Regions from separate parts of the Homo sapiens genome. Here region 1 is linked to region 2. Evidence: promoter capture Hi-C in human tissues and cell types (Jung and others, 2019). All regions are on one chromosome and are shown on one strand. The core of a region is centred on a gene start or on the middle of the fragment in contact, and the rest is flanking DNA. Distances in the headings are between cores, read along the strand shown.

Evidence for each region. The method cuts DNA at HindIII sites, captures the fragments that hold promoters and counts their contacts. A contact is called where the count stands out against the background at its distance.
Region 1: a contact is called between the fragment with the promoter of UCN here and a fragment that was not itself captured in region 2, in 1 of the 25 tissues and cell types used here (liver).

What each region holds. Positions count from the first base shown.
Region 1 is chr2:27,306,835-27,309,696 of GRCh38, forward strand. It overlaps UCN (urocortin), which reads right to left and starts at 1,611. Exons shown (of 2, transcript NM_003353.4): 1 at 1,326-1,611; 2 at 566-1,074. The coding sequence starts at 1,061. The coding sequence ends at 687. TRIM54 (tripartite motif containing 54) reads left to right here. Exons shown (of 9, transcript NM_187841.3): 9 at 53-601. MPV17 (mitochondrial inner membrane protein MPV17) reads right to left here. Exons shown (of 8, transcript NM_002437.5): 8 at 2,658-2,862. The HindIII fragment of the contact is 27,300 bases long and covers 1-2,862 here.
Region 2 is chr2:27,619,479-27,622,475 of GRCh38, forward strand. It overlaps ZNF512 (zinc finger protein 512), which reads left to right. Exons shown (of 14, transcript NM_032434.4): 14 at 1,675-2,997. The coding sequence ends at 1,983. Among named protein-coding and RNA genes, the nearest start is that of CCDC121, 8.0 kb to the right of the region's middle. The HindIII fragment of the contact is 6,428 bases long and covers 1-2,997 here.

The sequences.
Region 1 (2,862 bases), core at 361-2,860, 310 kb before region 2:
TGCCTCGTGCCTTCGCAGCACCCGCCCACCGAGCCTTCTTTCCCGGGCACAGGCCTGCGCCGACCCGACCCTGCTCGAGAGCCCGCGCTAGAGTCGGGGAGGATCTGCGCAGAGACCGCAGCATCACCCAAATCGGCGCCGGCCCCGGGAGGATCTCAATAAAGAACTCGAGCGTCCCAGACCCGTATCTCCTTTCGCTGCCCAACCCCGCAGCCTGGGCTTCGAAGGCGACCCGCCCACCATCCTGCCCTTCCCAGAACCTGAGACCGTCTGGGGGGCGGAAGCCAAATGAACCCCTATTGGGCACCTCTGTGATGCCAGGAGCGAACTGGTGAGCCCAGCGCCCTGGGAAGAGGGCCGAGGGCGGGGCGGTGGTGCCGGGACCTCTGAGGTCCTGGGGATTTGGGGACCCTTGGGGTCCACATGCACCTGGCTGACCTGGCTGAAAGCCGCTGTCTCGGAGCCCCCCACAGCATTTTGTTCCCCTCCCGCTGGCCCGGGGGCCCCACCTTCCCACGGGTTCCCACGCTGCTGTGACTGCCCTGCCTCTACGACAAAAGCCAACGGGTCTTCAGTACTTTTATTAAAAAATAGTCACGCAGACAGTGCCCTGGTGGCTCTGCCCCGCATCCCAACTCTGGGGTGGGGGAAAGGGGTCAACGTTTTCGCAGCCCCAAACCGGGCCATCACTTGCCCACCGAGTCGAATATGATGCGGTTCTGCTCGGCGCGCTCCCGCTGGCTCTGCGTCCGCGCCAGCTCCAGCAGGGTCCGCAGCAGGTGAAAGGTGAGGTCAATGGACAGAGAAGGGTTGTCCCGCCGCGGCCGCTCGCCTGCCGTCCCGAGTCCCAATCGGCCGGGCCCCGCGCGGCGCGGGAAGCGCTCCGCCAGCAGCAAGAGGAGCGCGCGGGCCCCGCCACCCTGGTTCCGTGCCCCGGGGCTCCAGCGCAGACTCGGGTCCTGGACCCCGGCCGCCTCGGGGCTCCTCTGGCTGCTCCCAGGGCACAGCTGTACCAGGAGCAGCAGCGCGGCCAGCAGCGCTGCGCGTCCCGCCTGCCTCATGGTGCCGCCGGCCCTGGACACACAGGGGCAGCGCAGGGTGAGGTGCGCCTGGGACAGCTGCAGGCCGCCGCTCCCCTCCCCGCGCTCGCCCGGCGACCCCTCCGGCCGCCGCCCAATGCCCGCAGCCTGCCCTCCAGCCCCAGCCACTGCGCCAGTGCTGTTCCATCCCTTCCACCCAGCCTCCCTCCCCGGAGGAGCGTGGTGGCTGAGCTGAGCGGAGTCCTGGTGCAGGGGGAGGCTGGGCGGACGCTCTGAGCCACTCACAGGTTGTCGGCGAGCGTCTGTACGGTCCAAGATTGAGCTCCAGTCTCTGTCCCTCGGGGCAGGCTGAAGACGCCTTGGGGAACACAGGGTCTGTCCCGGGGCTGTCGCCAGCCTTATATAGTGCCAGGACAGCTCCGACTGACGTCAGCGAAGAACATGCACTGATTGTAGAAGCAATGACAGCCACAGCTTCGAGTCTGACGGCTGGCGGGCCCCCGGAGGGGCGCACCTCCCTACACCAGCCTTCGTGCCCCTGGGGCTAGCGCTGGAAGCAGCACTGGACGCAGGAAAGCGAGAAGCCGGCTGGGGCGTAAAGACTGCTCTGGGACCCACGGGAGTCCCTCGCCCCGCTTAGAACAGCCAGCAATGACTAGGGCCGTCCCCAGACCAGACTAGTCCGGGTCGCGTGTTCTGACACACGAAAGGGAGGCGGGACCGTGAGGCTGTCCATGGTGCTGACCCCGTCCTCTGCCTCTAGAAGTGGCCAGAAATGTGAGAACGCTGTGCCGCTGGAACCCACTGCCTCCCTGCAGCTATCAGTTCTGCAAATGCAGGCATCAGGAGTCCACCGCTGGCACTCAGCCAACACAGTGGGACCCACTGAGAGGCAGTCTGCCACAACCAAAGTCTCCCAGCATTCTTATCTTTTTCCAGCCCCAGGATCCAAATTGTAGGGCTGTCTGACAGGCACCATGTAACAGAGGGTCTCTAGCATCCGAGTGCTTTCAGACCACAAATGGCTGGCCCATCTGCTTTTGAGTTTGCCAAAGTAGTTTAGCAAAGTTCAGTTTCTCTCCTGGGAATCATAGCAGCAGTGTAACTCTGCCCATGAGCAGCAAAGAAATATGGGTTCAAGTTTCTGCTAACTCCTGGTGTGGACAGGTCACCTCCCTCCTACCAACCTCAGGGTCCTCATTTGTAAGACTGGGCTTGGCCAGGCGCGGTGGCTCACGCCTGTAATCCCAACACTTTGGGAGGCCGAGGCAGGCGGATCACGAGGTCAGTAGTTTGAAACCAGCCTGGCCAATATGGCGAAACCCCATCTCTACTAAAAATACAAAAATTAGCCGGGCGTGGCGGTATGCGCCTGTGGTCCCAGCTACTCAGGAGGCTGAGGCAGGAGAACTGCTTGAACCCAGGAGGCGGAAGCTGCAGTGAGGCAAGATCGCGCCACTGCACTCCAGCCTGGGAGACAGAGCAAGACCCTGTCTCAAAAAAAAAAAAAAAAAAAAAAAAAAAAATTGGGCTTGGTGGTCTCTTGGCTTCTTTCCAGCTCTAGAAATGACTCCCCAATAGTTTTCTGCTTAAAAACTTACTCATTACCACTGCAGATTCCGGATTACATATTTAATAACATATTTACTGAGGCACCATATAAAGGGTTCCGGGAGTCTCTAAAGAGCTGGAGCTACAAGAAGCCTAGGCAGGGTTAGAGTAACAAATGTGTCTATGAAGAGTGGGGATGAGTGGCATTTGCTGGGATATGGGTGTAAAGTTGATAAGGTCATGAAGGTTCAACAGATATTTATGGAGTGCC
Region 2 (2,997 bases), core at 445-2,944:
GTTAAAATCAAAAGAATTGGAACCAACAAATTTCACTTGGTTTGGGGCATGCTCCCAGGCATTTGTTTATTGATTTATGCCTCTATGAATTTTGTGGGTGGTAAAACATCTTTACCCTGTTTCTTCCTCCCTCCATCACATTTTCTTACACTACTTTTTTTTTTTTAACAGAAAATTTCAAACACATGAAAGTAGAGAAAATAGCATAATGAACCCAGTATGCTGTCAGCCATCCTCAGCAATCATCAGTGTATGGCCAATCTTGTGTCATTTATAACCTCACTTTTCTCCTCCCTTAAAGGCTTACTTTAAAGCAAATTCCACATAAAATTTCAGCTGTAAGTGCTTCTTTCAATATATATCTGTAAGAGATAAGGACTTTTGAAAACATATGACCACAAACATCATTATACCTAAAAAAGTTAAGAATTTTAATATTATCATATGTCTAGTTATTATTTAAATTTCCCTGATTATCTTATAATGTTTTTTCAGAGTTGATTTTTCAAATTAGGATCTAAAACAAGGTCTAAATATTGCATTTGTTTGTTTTAATCTAGAGCAGCACTATCCAAAAAAAGTACTGTGAGCCATGTATATAATTTAAAATTTTCTAGTAGCCACATTAAAAAAGTATTTTAAAAGATGAAATTAATGTTAATAATTATTAAGCCCAATATATCTAAAATTATTTTTAACATTAAATCAATAAATTATTGAGATATTTTACATTTTTTTCATAACAAGTCTTTGAGATTTGTTGTATATTTTACATGAAAGCATATCTTAATTTGTTCTACTCACATTTAAACACATCACTTACCATATGTGGCTAGTGGCTATCTCATTGCATGGTGCAAGACTAAAAGCTTCCTCTTCTTTTTTACAAATTTGCCATTTATTGAAGAAACCGGATCACTTGTCACATACATGTACCCACATTCTGGAATTTTGCTGATTGCACCCTATGATAGTATTCCTGTATTCTGGCCATTTCCTTTTTTGCTTTTTGTTGTTGTTGTTTGTTTTTGAGGTACAGGGACCACTGCAGTGGAGTCTTGCAGTGGGGCAGAGAGATTGGGCTCAACTCCCTATTCTGGCTTTTCCTATGAATTGGTAGATTTAGAAGATTGAACAGATCACTTGATAAGATTGAAGTTCTTTCTTTTTTGGCAAAAATACTTCATAATTGGATTTCATGTCCCCTACCCCTTAATTTTTTAAAGTGAGCCTCGAAAATGTTAAGTAATTCGCCCATGGTCACGTATCTAGAAACAGAGCTGGGATTTGCACCCAGGGGGTCTGGCTGCAAAATTTATGCTCTTAGTTACGATGCCGTCATGGAATAAAAATCTCCTATGGCTCAGTGTGTTACATCTCATGATGAGATTTATACTCAGGAGATATAAGAGTGGGATGATGCTAAGTAAACAGACTTTGTAGATCATTTATTAAAGTCCCTAGAATTACGCCTTACAAAATATGTGCTTGTAATAGCTGCTCTGTGTTGGATTTCTCCATCTTAAAATATAGAATCCTGAGGTATGGTTCCATATCTGTTTCCTTCTTACTGTGTTCTGCCCTAATCATGCCTTTTTTCCATTCTTCCTCCACCTTTCTTTATGTTCTTCACTATATTTTCGACTGGATGACATTTCTATTTTGCCTCTCTAGGACTGGTTCGTTGTAAACCCAACAACAACCAAAAGCTTTGAAAAGCTGATGAAGATAAAGCAGCGGCAGCAAGAAGAAGAAAAGCGGAGGCAGCAGCACAGGAGCAGAAGGTCTCTAAGAAGGCGGCAGCAGCCTGGCATTGAGCTTCCCGAGACAGAGCTGAGTCTTAGAGTAGGGAAGGATCAGAGGAGGAATAATGAGGAACTGGTAGTGTCAGCCTCCTGTAAGGAACCAGAGCAGGAGCCAGTGCCAGCACAGTTCCAGAAAGTAAAGCCCCCAAAGACTAATCATAAACGAGGAAGGAAATAGGCAGTCAGTGTAAAAGTGCTCCTAGGAAAGCAGATGTGATGCTGTTGTCACGGGGACCTGTGCTGGGAGGACTGAGTGAAGATTCTTTCAGCTGTTTGTGTAAGGCTGTGACTTTCTCAGCTCCTTCCTCCTGTGTAAATTTCACTGTCTTCCCTTCTTACATTTTGATTCCCCCCTCCCCTTTTAGTAGGTTTTCCTGCTATTCCTCGTCAAGTCCTCTTGTTTTTTTATCTTGCCCAAAGAGCTCCCTCTCAAGGCCAACTATAGGCTCCTCTTGCCCTGTACAAAACTAAGAAACCTCTTTGGTTGTCCTTTCCTTCCTGGGGTATAGAATGTTCTTGGAAGCTCCATTGATTTAGTAGCTGCTCCATCATCTAGCTTGTGAAACCATTCCAAACTAATTTTTTAAAACCATAACTGATTTGTCATTTTGTATTTGTGATATAACAAGTCTAGAAGTTAGAACTGTTGTCATTCACATAATAAGATTACTCTGTCTCCTTGGGAAAAAAACTTTATGGAGGCTGTTTGTCCTCTCAATATGGTTTTAAGATTGAAAGTAAGAAAACGGATTTAGGATGAAAACTCTAGAACTACCCTATGCTGTTTATACTGGGAAATGCTTTGTACCAAGTAGCAGTGACTAGACCCACAGACATGAAAAGCAACCTTAGGAGTAAAGTGACCCAAACATTAAAATGACAGGAAAGAGAAAGTAGAAGCAGCAATAAATACTGCCCCAACTTTCCTGGAGCCCGAGGCCTCATCCATAGCTATGATCACTTGCCCTCTGAAGCTTATTTTTGCTTCTTTGGTTTTAAGAATTGAGAAATATCACATTGCCCCTGATGTTTTGACAGTCTCCTAGTGCTCCTGGTAGTGCCACTAAGGGAAAACCAAGGTGCGCATTCCTTCTCCCTGGACTTTACCTTACTTGTTAGTCTACGCCCCACTGTTTCCACCCATCCCCTTAGCCAACCTCTGTCTTTTTGAATTTTCTGAGAATATTGTCCT